5 separate regions of the Homo sapiens genome follow, and regions 2, 3, 4 and 5 are each linked to region 1. The links are contacts of gene promoters, found by promoter capture Hi-C in blood cells and fetal thymus (Javierre and others, 2016). All regions are on one chromosome and are shown on one strand. The core of a region is centred on a gene start or on the middle of the fragment in contact, and the rest is flanking DNA. Distances in the headings are between cores, read along the strand shown. Region 1 holds the start of ENTHD1 (ENTH domain containing 1). Region 2 overlaps CACNA1I (calcium voltage-gated channel subunit alpha1 I). Region 3 has its middle 140 kb from the start of CACNA1I. Region 4 overlaps ENTHD1 (ENTH domain containing 1). Region 5 overlaps ENTHD1 (ENTH domain containing 1).

The links. The method cuts DNA at HindIII sites, captures the fragments that hold promoters and counts their contacts. A CHiCAGO score of 5 or more calls a contact.
Region 2: a contact is called between a fragment that was not itself captured here and the fragment with the promoter of ENTHD1 in region 1, in 1 of 17 cell types (naive CD4 T cells). The highest score is 5.9, in naive CD4 T cells.
Region 3: a contact is called between a fragment that was not itself captured here and the fragment with the promoter of ENTHD1 in region 1, in 3 of 17 cell types (activated CD4 T cells, megakaryocytes and naive CD4 T cells). The highest score is 5.4, in activated CD4 T cells.
Region 4: a fragment that was not itself captured here is called in contact with the fragment with the promoter of ENTHD1 in region 1 in 4 of 17 cell types (megakaryocytes, naive CD4 T cells, activated CD4 T cells and 1 more); the score reaches 7.2 in megakaryocytes.
Region 5: a contact is called between a fragment that was not itself captured here and the fragment with the promoter of ENTHD1 in region 1, in 1 of 17 cell types (megakaryocytes). The highest score is 9.3, in megakaryocytes.

What each region holds. Positions count from the first base shown.
Region 1 is chr22:39,892,492-39,895,027 of GRCh38, reverse strand. It overlaps ENTHD1 (ENTH domain containing 1), which reads left to right and starts at 1,268. Exons shown (of 7, transcript NM_152512.4): 1 at 1,268-1,333. It also overlaps a transcript of GRAP2 not described here. The HindIII fragment of the contact is 18,515 bases long and covers 1-2,536 here.
Region 2 is chr22:39,671,295-39,673,830 of GRCh38, reverse strand. It overlaps CACNA1I (calcium voltage-gated channel subunit alpha1 I), which reads right to left. Exons shown (of 37, transcript NM_021096.4): 27 at 1,523-1,632; 28 at 749-882. Among named protein-coding and RNA genes, the nearest start is that of CACNA1I, 100 kb to the right of the region's middle. The HindIII fragment of the contact is 2,897 bases long and covers 1-2,536 here.
Region 3 is chr22:39,708,817-39,711,352 of GRCh38, reverse strand. No RefSeq gene overlaps it. Among named protein-coding and RNA genes, the nearest start is that of CACNA1I, 140 kb to the right of the region's middle. The HindIII fragment of the contact is 677 bases long and covers 925-1,601 here.
Region 4 is chr22:39,742,407-39,744,942 of GRCh38, reverse strand. ENTHD1 (ENTH domain containing 1) reads left to right here. Exons shown (of 7, transcript NM_152512.4): 7 at 660-1,899. The coding sequence ends at 1,264. Among named protein-coding and RNA genes, the nearest start is that of ENTHD1, 150 kb to the left of the region's middle. The HindIII fragment of the contact is 1,525 bases long and covers 514-2,038 here.
Region 5 is chr22:39,763,899-39,766,434 of GRCh38, reverse strand. ENTHD1 (ENTH domain containing 1) reads left to right here. Exons shown (of 7, transcript NM_152512.4): 6 at 826-1,212. Among named protein-coding and RNA genes, the nearest start is that of ENTHD1, 130 kb to the left of the region's middle. The HindIII fragment of the contact is 1,369 bases long and covers 578-1,946 here.

The DNA of each region.
Region 1 (2,536 bases), core at 19-2,518:
AATAGGCTGGCTCAGCTTTCATGCCTTTACACATGATGTGTCCTTTGCCTCTTACGTCCTCCTCTACTTTGTCTATCCAGTGAACTCCCTGTCATCCTTTAAGATTCAATTCAGATGTAAACTCTTCTGTGAAACCTGCCCTTAAATACTCAGTGGCAGAATTAGATGATCTCTTCTCTCTTACTATGCCATACATATCTTGTTACAATCTTCTCTGACGGTGCCTGTCACCTCCACTAGCCTGTAAACGTATCCAGCAGAGGGCTGCTTTTTATCTCCGAGTCCTTACTGTCTGGCACAAAGTGGGTGCTCACGGAAAATCAGTTGAATACATCAACAATTACCCGTCAGTGGCACCTGAAGCCATCAGTCACTGGAGCTACCCCATCATTGTCCATCACACACACTGCTCTTCATAGACTACTATTACATTCTCAGTCCTTTGAGGTGGCAATCACGTGCTGGTGGTATTTCTAGTCAGTTGAAATGACAGTAGTAACACACTTTTAAAAATGTATTCATGTGCCATGCTGGTGCGCTGCACCCACTAACTCGTCATCTAGCATTAGGTATATCTCCCAATGCTATCCCTCCCCCCTCCCCCCACCCCACAACAGTCCCCAGAGTGTGATGTTCCCCTTCCTGTGTCCATGTGTTCTCATTGTTCAATTCCCACCTATGAGTGAGAATATGCGGTGTTTGGTTTTTTGTTCTTGCGATAGTTTACTGAGAATGATGATTTCCAATTTCATCCATGTCCTTAAAACTTAAATAATAATAAATAAAAAAAAAGAGATATTATGCTAGAAGTCTGAGTATTTTACTGATTTTCCATTTTAAGAATAAATTATCATGGCAAATTTTAAGTTACATACATTATTTTATTGTCTACTTTTTAAAAACATTATCAGCTTACCTTGGCATTTTTTTTCTTTTTTTAATGTCCGTTTTTACGTTGTGAACATTTAGTAAATTAATTTATACTCATTTTTATTTAATTAAGAAAGCAGCTAAGAATAAATGCTAGTGTCTGATTAAACTATTTCCCAGATCTCAAAAAAAAAAAAAAATTTATTCTTTGAAAGGAGGATTAGGGCAGTGTCACAGCCCGGCAGCCTGTGAAACGAAGACACTTACCTTCATTCCCCTTGGTACCCTCCAGCTCAGGTATCTGCAACCATCTTGCTTGACGCCCTGACAGGAACTGCACCAGGCCAGAAAGTGAGGAAGCGGAAGTGGGGACCGGCCTGGGCCCTTGAGCCTGGCTGGAGTAGGTGGAATATCCTGGGGAGAGGAAGTTTGGTCGTTGGGCAGCGGCCGACTTTCCTCTCAGGTAACAGCCTCTGCTTGGGAGTGGTGGTGGGGCTCAAGGCGGGTCTGGAAACATCGGTTGCCTTCCCTCCTCCCGTTTCTTGCCGGCACCGTCGGAGTCCAGGTGGGGGCGGGAGGGCGGCGAGGCCATTACCATCCGCAGGAGGTGAAATCCCTGTGGCGTGACGTGACGCCATCACGTCCCTCTCTCCTTCTAGAGGCTTTCCTGAGGTCCAGCCTTCCCCTCCACTGCCGGTTCTCCTAGGGTAATTGCTGGTCTGATTCTCTGTGTGGCCGAACGCCCAGCACCTGGCTCATCTGGTACACAGTCGTCATCTGAAGTGGGGGTTGTATGAATGAAGACGAGGATGCCGAGGAAAGGCCCTGCCCACAGAAAGTTGATTCTTGCTCAGCCTCCACCCGCCATTTTCAAAATTCTTTCCAAAGCATCTCGTTTCTTCCTCCCCCACGGCCCTGTCTGGCGATTATTCTTTGTGTTGCGGATGAGGGAACTGAGACTTAGAGAAGTTGTTAAGTCTTAGTTAGGAAATGGCAAAGCAGGACCTCAAATCATGGCTTTGAATCCTAATTAAAGGAGAGAGATGAGGCATGTGAAGGCCCAGGTGTGAGCACATTGTGAGCGTTCAATGAAGAGTAGCTGTTTACTCCAGGGTGTGAGGACTGTGTCTTGTGCACCTGTTTCTCCATTTCCTAGAATGGAGCCTGCCACATGGTAAGCTCTGGAAGATTATTAGTTGAATAAATTAATGAACACACACTTAGGGCTGGAAAAGATTAGATTCTCTGCCTCTGACAGTATTCTTTTCATCAAAACAGTAACACCTCCTAATGGCATGGTAGTCTCTATAACCATTTTCCCGTAGCATTCTTGGCCAGAGCTCATTTCCTTACGAGTCAAACTCATGTCTATAGGCAGAACCTGTACAAACACAAGAGCTGTTCTTTTCTCATAGTTCCACCTTAAATGCATCTTTTCAGAGATAGCTCTGGACACTCAGCCTCTTAGATGCTATTGTCATTATTGTCCCAAGTCTTTGGATAAAGTCAGTTCAGCTCCTCTGTTCCTTATTCTCAATCCTGAAATCCAAAAACTTTTGGAAATCAACTTTTCCTCCAACTCATTTGGTGGTAAAACTTGGCCTGAGGCCATTTGTAGTCTTTATTCCAAATATTTACATGTTTTTATTGCAGACATGTTAATGTG
Region 2 (2,536 bases), core at 10-2,509, 220 kb after region 1:
ATACCACATTACAAGAATGTGGGTGCAGCCACAGGGTGAGTGGGGCATGCACAAAAACATGTGGACACAAGGCGTGGGTGTCACTGTAGAAAAGCCCCCGAGGACGGGGCATACTCATGGAAACTGAGGTCTATGAAGTGTGTGAATGGGTGGGCCATGAACTGTCACGGGCACAAAGGACCAGCGTGAGTGGCCACATCTCTTCTCTTCCCCTCTCGATAAAGAGGACTCTGGCATCACTCGCTGAGTTTCTGGCAGGCAGAAGAGCAAGAGGCACCTGGGCTCGCCCTGAGGCAGGAGGCTTTTAAAAGAAGTGTACGAACTACCTTGAGGGGAGGGAGAAGGATCTCTGAAGACCGTGCGTCCCAGTCACTGTGTTTGAGAAATGCCAGCGAGGAACTGGAGGTGTTTCACATCTTCCCAGTTGGACTGGGTTCCTTGCATCACACTCTGAGACTGGACCCCATGGGTCATGGCGTCATAAGGAAGTGGGAGTGTGTGTCCATGTGTGCTATGCAAAGTTGCCTGTGTGTTGGGGGAGGTGTGTGCACACAGAGGGTGCATGCGTGTGTGTTGGCTGTGTGCCTCCCAGCTCCTTCTCACCCCTGTTCAGCAAGGAGCCCACCATGCCTGCAAACTCCTGCCCCCACCCCTCCCCACCCCACTCCTGTGTGTTCTCATCAGGCAATGAGGAGTCTCATCCCGCCCCTGCTTGTCCCCGTTCCCTGTCCCACCCCTTGCCCCTCACCTCGGGCAATGCGCAGAACCCTCATGATGCGGATGATGGTGGGATTGATGGGCAGGGCCGCATTGATCTCGATCTCCTCCAGGGTGATGCCCATGACTGACAGTAGCACAATGGCCAGGTCCAGCTGGTTCCATCTGCTCAGCCGTGCATGGGAGGGCAGGAGTGGGCATGAGGAGGATCCCTCTGGTTCAGACACACCTTAGTGGGGGGAGCCTCCCAGGTCCTGACCCTTCTATTGTGGCCCATTAGGCTGTGTGGCTGCCCTCCCTTACTAGCCCCTCCTAACGCCACTGGGTCCAGGCCCCTCTCTGCTCCCCATAGCCATCACTCCGTCAAGCAAGGGGCTGATCAGGCTAAATAAATATCTCTGGCCTCCTGCAGGAGAGGAGGCATGGACTATGACTTCCAAGTCTAATCTTGAGCTGGCTGCTCTCTCTGTCTGGCCTTAGGCTAGTCCATCAACTTCTTTGAGCCTCACTATTCCCTTCAAAAAGGAGTATTAGCATGAGGCAGACCCTGCTCTGCCCATAGGGTAGAGACAACGTACCAAAGATGAGCCAAGAAGGGCCAGGTAGAATGCCCTACGCCCATCAGATGATACCATAATTATTTCCTGTTCAGAGCTATAAGCAGCAGCTGGGGTGCCTGTCCATCCGTGCCTAGATGCTTACTGGTTCCCCTCTTCAGGCTGCTCCAGACTTCCCTAAGGGTCAGGACTGCTTCTTCATCCTGCAGTCTACCCTATTACTGCCCTAATCCAGCCTGGCCACTCACCGGTCCTTGAAGAAGCGCCTCAGACCAAATGCCACCAGCTTCAGCACAGCCTCCAGCACAAAGACAGTGGTGAACATATAGTTGCAGTACTTGAGGGCTGTCTCCAGGGACTATGGAGGAACAAAGAGAAGCATGATCCAGGGCACATGACCTGCTCCACAACCTTCCTCCACTCAGAAAGTCTCTGCCTTTTAAGGAGAGAATTTAGTCCATTTACTTTTAGTGTAATTATTTATATGCTGCTTTTATTCTTTCCATCTTAGTGTGTACTATTTATTTTATGCTGCTATTCCTTCTGTTCCCTTTTTCTTATTTATGTGTATCTGGTCGAGTTGGTACCTTTGGAGGCAATATAGGGTATTAATGAAGAGCTACTGAGCCAGACTGCCTACATTTGAATCCTGGCTTAGTGCTCACTCCATATTCACCTTATGATCTTGAGTAAGTCATTTCATCTTAGAAAGCTGGTATGCAAATTAAATGAGCTGATAGTTCGGTGCTGGAAACAGAATAATACTTGGTAAATGTAAGCTATTAATATTCCATTTTTCCTGTTAATTTGGAAGTTGTATAATTATTGTTTCATTCTGCCAATGGTTATCTTTCTTTTTTCTGCATTCATAATATTCCTCTCCCATCATTTGAAATAAGGTATTAATTTCACACCTGGCGGCTCTGCTTCCCTCTTCTTCCCCTCCAACTCCATCAGGGTTTTTAGAATGCACTTGCTCCTCACATGCCCCTCACATACCTGGTCTGCAACAAGCTGGGAAATGGTCATCCTCACCCACCCCCAGTGTTTGCCTGAAATGGTCCTTCCACCCTTTTGCCTCGTCTCCATATACCCAGGTAGTAAAGGAGGCTACATGGTAGGCTTTGAATGCAAATCTAAGTTCCAGACCTGGTTCCACTACCTATGGCTGAGTAATTTGGGCAGCATATTTAACCTCTCTAAGCCTCAGGCTCTTCACCTATAAAATCCAGACAAAGGATTCCCCCTGCCAGCCTTAGGAT
Region 3 (2,536 bases), core at 14-2,513, 180 kb after region 1:
TCCTTGCCAGGTCCTCTTCTTAGGCTCCTAGAATCGGGGACCCACTTGTCCAAGCACCTGAGGGATTTCCAGATGGATCCAATCCTGACGCCACTGGGGTCCACCCCAGGTCCTCCCAGTGAGAACATGCAATGAAAAGTAAAATGTTGCGAGTCTGCAGTGAGTGAGCTGAGAGCACGGGGACCCTAAGAGCTGCATGGCTCCCTGCCGTGGATGTGACGTGTCAACCTAACAAACTGGAAGAGGCTTTCTACAAAAAATGAGGTTCATTTGGGAACGGGCGCTACGTGGAAATATGTGTGCCGTGGTAAACTGCATGTGCGTCCAGGGAGGTCAAGGAAGGCAAAGGTTTTTAAAGGAAAATGAAGAGGATTAGGTCATCATTTTAAGATAAGTATCCTTGGCTGCTAGAATCAGGAACAAGGGTGGCACCAATCCAAGGCTGGACAGGCAGCTGCTGGGCCGATGTCCTCCAGGAGCGGTTTTCTGTGTAAGGTTGCAATGGCCTTTGTGCAAAGTGGTGGTTTTTAAAGAGACTTTTATGATAGTTCTTGGTATCAGGCATTCATGCACGAGAACCCTCCCTTTGTAGCCTTCTCTGGCTCTGTTTGTCAGGGTTTTAAACACAAGTGACTCCATTTTTACCCTGACAACTTTCACCAAAGACACGGTGAGGGCAGCTGTGCCTGAGCAGAATCTGGGAGAAAAGGCAGCTGGCTGAGCAGCTTTGGCCTCAGAGCTCTTTGCCCCGGAGCAGAAATCCCAGGTGGCACCTCCATGCCCTCAGGGCAGGGCACCTGTTCTCCAAGGAGAGAGAGAGCAGAGCGGGTGCTGGCAGCTGAGGGGCATGTAACCTGGGTGCCCGGAGGCTGGCCGCCTTCCTTCAGGATCCAGCTTCAGGACCCTGCTGGTTCTGGGCAAGCTTCTCCTCTGTTTTGGGGGCTCCATCTGAGTGGAAGTTTCTGATCTACAGCAGGGTTCCCGGGAGCGGCAGATTCGGGCAATCTCATGGGCTGCAATTTGGGACAGAGCTAGTGTTCTGGAGGAGATGGGACACTGGGGACAGACAAGTCCCAGACAGGCGGTGGCATTACCTAGTGCAGTGAGAGCGGAGAGGGTTTTGCAGCTCGGGGAGGGCTTCCTGCAGAAGGCAATGCCACTGGAGCATCTTAAAAATTAGAAGTCCTTCTAAGACTCATAGGAATTATTTGGCAAAACACAGGAGGTTGGGAGGGGAAGGACATTCGGGCCGCCGGGGTGTGGGGTGGAGGACAGCATGAGACCCAGAGCTGTAGCCAGCATGGCATTTAGAGGGGAGCCAGTTATCATCCCAAAAGACTTAATTCTGGACACCTTCATCCTGAATGTTGAAATCCCAAAGCTATCACTTCTGGAAAAAATAATTTAAAAGTCTTTAAAAGATGTTTATTTACAATTTTAAAAGATTTATTTAAGAAACATATAAAAGCACAACAGAACACTTCACAGGCCAGTTTACACCATAAAACAGGCAATAACACCATACATATTTTTGCAAGCAGAAACACCCAGGTATGCTAATGATGGTCACCGAGGTGCAAAAATTATGAGCAGGCAAAGCTTATTCATAAAGAAATAGGGAAAGTATACATGCACATCACCGAGTATAACAATTATAAGCAGACAAACCGTATTCATAAAGTGAGTCAAAAAGGGACAAGGTACACGCACATCACCAAGGGAGTGTGTGCACTCAGCTTCATAACTGTGGTCATCTGAAATATTACATGACGGACAACCTAAGCCTTTTGATGAAATTGACCAAAAGCCACAATGGGTCGTCACGGCGTGTGCAGGCACCCAAATAGCTGAGATCTCGAAAGATTTTATTTCACAAATGCAGATGTACATAAAGGACATTTCTTCATCTATTGAGGAGGATTCAATGTTTCTGTGTTGAAAACCAGGAAAGCCGATGATCTATATCTCAGGCTGAGGCCAAAAGCCTCAAGGCCCCGGGGCGGGGGGATGCTGGTTAAGTCCTGGAGTCTAAAGGTTAAGAGCCTGGCATTCTGATGTCGAAGGCAGCAGAAGGAAAGGCTGTCCCGGCTCTCGGAGATTCGCCTTCGGCATTTGTTCTCTCCCACCCGCTGGCTGCTTGGATGGTGCCCGCCAACACTGAGGACAGAGCATTCCACCCAGCCTACTCAGACCCACACACGGGTCTCCCCTGGAGACCCCTCACAAACACACCCAACACAGTCCTTCACCCGGTCCTTCCTCCGGGCAAGAGGACGCCTAAAATTCATCCACAAATCTACCCTTGTCAACCTGGCACCCGTACGCATGTCCTGAAGCCACACTTAATTTCCAAATAAAGACAATAGCAAGGTCATAGTTCTGCCTAACACGATGCAATAGCCTGTGACTGTGATTTTCGGGATTTTAGAATTTAAGGATTTTAGACAATCGGGATTTAGACTTTAGGGATTTTGATCTTCAGGGATTTTGACCTTTTGGGATTTTGACATTCAGGATTATGGCATTTGGAATTGTG
Region 4 (2,536 bases), core at 27-2,526, 150 kb after region 1:
AAGTAAAAACTTTCCCAAATATGTAATTTTATGGAAAAAAAGGCTTAGAATGCTTTTTACTTCACTTAGTTTCTTGGTGAGAAAAAAAATGATTATATACGTGTGCTAAAGTATTCTAGATTTCAGATGTGTTGGACTTCAGTCTTGATTATATTTCACTATAGACAGAAAAATATTTATTTCACTAACTTTTGGGTACTTGTAGTTGGTAGTTCATTTTGCCATAATAATCTCTACAGGAAAAAAAATTAAAAAGTTGAAGGAATCTGTTACAGGTTTCTCACTTTCTACTTTAAATACCAACTTAAAATGCTGGCAGTCAGTAGAATGGGGTTTAATACTTTTCTACTCTCTCTGATTAAGTTTAGTGTAAAAATATGTTGGGCAGGGTTTGAGTCAAGATGAGTCAAGATGAATATTGATAATTCTATTTTAGTTTCATTTCCATGGTATTATTGATATATAATACATCTGTAGATTTTCTTAGTTTCCTGCTTTGGGTTTTTTTAAGCTTATTATGAATAGTTAACATTTAAAATTCTAAGCAGTTTATTTATGTTGAGCCCTTCCAGATAGGCTTTTACATTATAAAATTATTTTAGCTATTACTCTCATTTGTATGTTGCATAAATCTTTTTTCTCTCATTTACACATTTTAGTTTCAACTGCTTCTGAGGGAGCATCTTCCTTTTCTCCTTTATCCATGTCATCTCCTGATTTAGCCTCTCCAGAGAAGTCAGCTCATCTCTTATCACCAATTCTGGCCGGACCTTCCTTCTGGACTCTGTCCCATCAACAGTTGTCTTCTACCTCCTTTAAAGATGAAGATAAGACAGCCAAGCTGCATCACTCCTTTGCTTCTAGGGGCCCAGTGTCTTCTGATGTAGAGGAAAATGATAGCCTCAATCTACTGGGAATTCTTCCAAATAACTCTGATTCTGCTAAAAAGAATATAAGTCACATTTCTAGTAGTCACTGGGGGGAGTTTTCCACCCAAAATGTAGACCAGTTCATCCCTCTGTCCTGTTCTGGTTTTCAGTCAACCAAAGACTTCCCCCAGGAACCTGAAGCAAAGAATTCCATTAGTGTTCTTTTAAGGGAGGTAAAACGTGCGATCGCTAGATTACATGAAGATCTGAGCACAGTGATCCAAGAACTTAATGTCATCAATAACATCTTGATGAGCATGAGTCTGAATAGTTCACAAATAAGCCAGTCTTCCCAGGTCCCCCAGTCTTCTGAGGGGAGCTCAGATCAGATCTAATCATCACAATATCTATTTTTGATAGAACTCGTGTGGTTCCACTTCCCCAAGACTTACGTTAGCATTGTATAAATTCATATTATTATGGCAAAAAAGGGGATGGTTTAATTTTTCCTTGTCAGGTTTATTAGCAAGTATCTTTCAAACTAATACTTTCATTTGGGTGGTTTATTTTTTAAAAGGGAAAGATGTCACCTTTGATAATTTCAGATTTAGATATTAGTTCATTTGAAACAGAAGAGAATTTCATTCTTTCATGCTCTGTACCTCAAATGGGTTAAGCATTAGTGAAAATTGTGGTAAGACCTCAAACTGCAAATGACTATTCAAGAGCTTTTGGATAAGGAGGCAGGAAGAAGCTCTTTATCTTTCAACTGTATGGAGCTTGTTAACAAGCCTCTGAGGTGACCTAGGAGGATTGAGTTTGGGGGTATACATTTCACACATTCTTTTGCAAGTTTTAGGTTCTGCAACCAAGGGCCAGAAATCTTTTCTTTCTTCCAGATGCTAGTGTTAGGAGTTAAATGGAAACAAGAAGGACATGGGGCAAATGTTTTTACTGTCAATGTATATTGCAAGGTGAATTCAAATGCATCCTTTTATTCTACTTCAGAAAATAAATTTGATATTTTTCATCTTCTGTGTATCTTTTTAATTCATTAAGACAGCCTTTCAAATAGAAATGTCTGTTATTTATGGGCAAAACAGTCCGGTTTGGGGATTACAGGCCAGTGATTCCCAACCCTGCTGCACACTGGAATCACCACAGAAGCTTTTCTTTTGTTTTATATTTGTCTGAGAGAATCGTGTAATGGGCTCCATGTGCCCATCACTCAGTTTCAACAATTACCAACTCGAGGCTAAAATAATCCTGATTATTTTGAAGACATACGAAACATTTTAAAAATATACTAATGCCAGGGTCCTGCTCCCAGACAAATTGAAACTGGTTTTCATCATGCAGACTGGATTAAGTGATAAAGGAATTGTCAGTGAAAAGACCTTAAAGCTGGAGGAATTTGGCGTGGTTGAAGAATGGCAAGAAAGCTGGTGTGGCTGGAGTGAAGTGAGCAAAGGGGAGAGTAGACGGAGTTCAAGGTCATGGAGCAAAGATGACAGATGACATAGGTTCTTAAAAACCACTGTTAGAGAGACCTGGTGTGGCAGCTTACATCTGTAATCCCAGCACTTTGGGAGGCCGAGGCAGGTGGATCACGAGGTCAGGAGTTCAAGACCAGCCTGGGCAAGATGGTGAAATCCCGTCTCTACTAA
Region 5 (2,536 bases), core at 13-2,512, 130 kb after region 1:
TCTAGAAACTCGGACCAGGTCTATAATGCGTAGATTCAATAGACATTCCTGGATCAGGCCCACCTTCAGTTTCAGTTTCTTACAATTCCTTCAGTGTTTTCTATTTGTAATAAATATTGTTTGTTATATTCTAGGGACTATTTTATGTACTTTGGTGATATTAACCACTAGAATGGACAAAGATCTCCAGCCCAGTGGAACTTATATTTTACTAATTGTCAGAACAGCTCTGAAAGATTGTTTCCTTTCTTCCGTATAGACAAAGCATTTATTAAAATTAAGCTTCTACCTAAAGTACTGAGTTTCTTTAATGTGCCTTGCATATAGAAACTGTGTGGAAGAAGACATTCTTTATTTTTGGGGAGAAAGCTTTTCTTTTTCTTTCTTTTTTTTTTTTTTTTTTTTTTTTTTTTTTGTAGCTGAGGGTTCTGTAAGGATAGACCAGTATGATGTGGCATATTTTCCCTAGTTTATCTTGTAAAAAAGATGAAAGTTGGAAAGTACTAAAAATATGGTGGTTTCAGCGACAGATAAGTGGGTGAAGGGAGAAATATTTAAAGACAAGTTATTTGAAGCTTTCCTTGCTTTGTGCTTCAGTGAGGAGAGAGGGAGAAGGCAGCTACCAAAATGACTAAGGCGTCAATTATAGCTTGGGTGTACTTTAAATAGGCAGAATATAGAAGCATAGTAAGAAAGCAGAGGGCTAAATAGGAAAGAATTCTGTTATGACATTAAAAAATCCTATTTATTAAAATTATAACAGATTTGAAATAGAGTATTTTCAGTTTTATTTTTTGATTATAGCTCTTATTTGTTCTTTTATAGATGCTGTGCCTACTCTCTCAGAAAATAGTCCTTCTGGGCAGAGAGATGTGAGTTTGGACAAGAGATCAGATGGTATCTTTACAAATACTGTCACAGAAAACCTCTTGGAAACACCTTTAGAAAAGCAATCAGCTGCAGAAGGTCTTAAAACATTGACAATTTTACCAGCATGTTGGTCAAGTAAAGAGGAGTTTATCAGCCCCGACTTAAGGGTATCAAAGTCAGATTCTACTTTCCATAACCAGGCCTCTGTAGAAACACTCTGTCTCTCTCCCTCATTCAAAATATTTGACCGAGTGAAGGAGATTGTAATCAACAAGGCCTACCAGAAACCAGCACAATCCAGCATTCAGATGGATGATAAAATCCTCAAGACAACCACACGGGGTGAGTCTGCCAAACACACACACACACACACACACACACACACACAACAAAAAACCTCTTTTGAAGCATTATTTTACTTTTCTCTGCTTTCTGTCTCCTTTTTTTGTTCCCTCCTTTCACTCTTCATCATTGATATTAAAATGTACATGCCATACACATACTTCTTAGTTGGGAAAGTCCCCCTTTTATTAAAGGGCTAATAGATAATTCATCACCGTGGGTTCTGAGTCCTTGGTTGAATATAAGATCTGAGCAATTTTGGTGCAGACCAAATTAGAAGGAACTAGTGTGAAGTAAGTGCTTTCTGTTAGACATGTAGGTTACTTATTAAGAGATTATATGAAAAAGAATTGGTTATTATGTGTATTGGTGTATACACACACCCCCACATACACACGGGTGTATGTGTGCCCCTTTAAAAAGGGCTGTGTACTGATTGCACAAAAGGGGCAGGGGATCTTGTCTTTTTTATATTATATATATTTTATATTATAAAGATATAAAAAACCTTAAGAAGATTGCAGTATTGTTTAGACTGGGTAATAAAGGATAAAGCCAGTTGAGATTTCAGGTTATTGGCTCTCAGTTACTAAATCCTCTATTATATAATTATGCTTTCTACTTTAAAGTTTACTAGTAAAATAATAATTTTTATGAATTTTTCAAAGACTAAGTAGTAGTTTTATTGGTTCTTACATATAATAGTGCTAACCAACTCATATAAATATAAAGCTTTTTAAATGTATTTATTTTTATTAGAGACAGGGTCTTGTTCTGTTGCAATCAGTGCAATCATAGCTCACTGCAGCTTCAAACTCCTGGGCTCAAGCAATCCTTCCACCCCTCAGCCTTCCAAATAGCTACGACTACAGGTGCATGCCACCACTCCTGGCTAATTTTATTTTTGTGTGTGTGGAGGTGGGGTCTTGCTATGTTGCCCAGGTTGGTCTTGAACTCCTGGCCTCAAGTGATCCTCCTGCCTCAGCCTCCCAAAGCTCTGGGATCACAGGCATGATCCACTGTGTCTGGCCAATAAAGATTTTAACGTGAATCTTTTAAACAGACTCAAACCCAGATCAAAAGTACATATAAATATAAACAATGGAAGCCACCATGTTGAAGTTAAAGAAATTTATATTGGTATTAGTAAGGTCAATGAGTAACAAAAGATTTTCCTTGGTGCTCTTTCAAGACTTTTTTGATACTGAATAGCCTAAAGGTAGTAAAACTGATTCTCAGTTTTGTCAACCAATTAACTTTTCTTCTGAGACTGCTGATGTGGAAACCTGTTAGTACTGGTTATGATGGCTCTGATGGATTATGT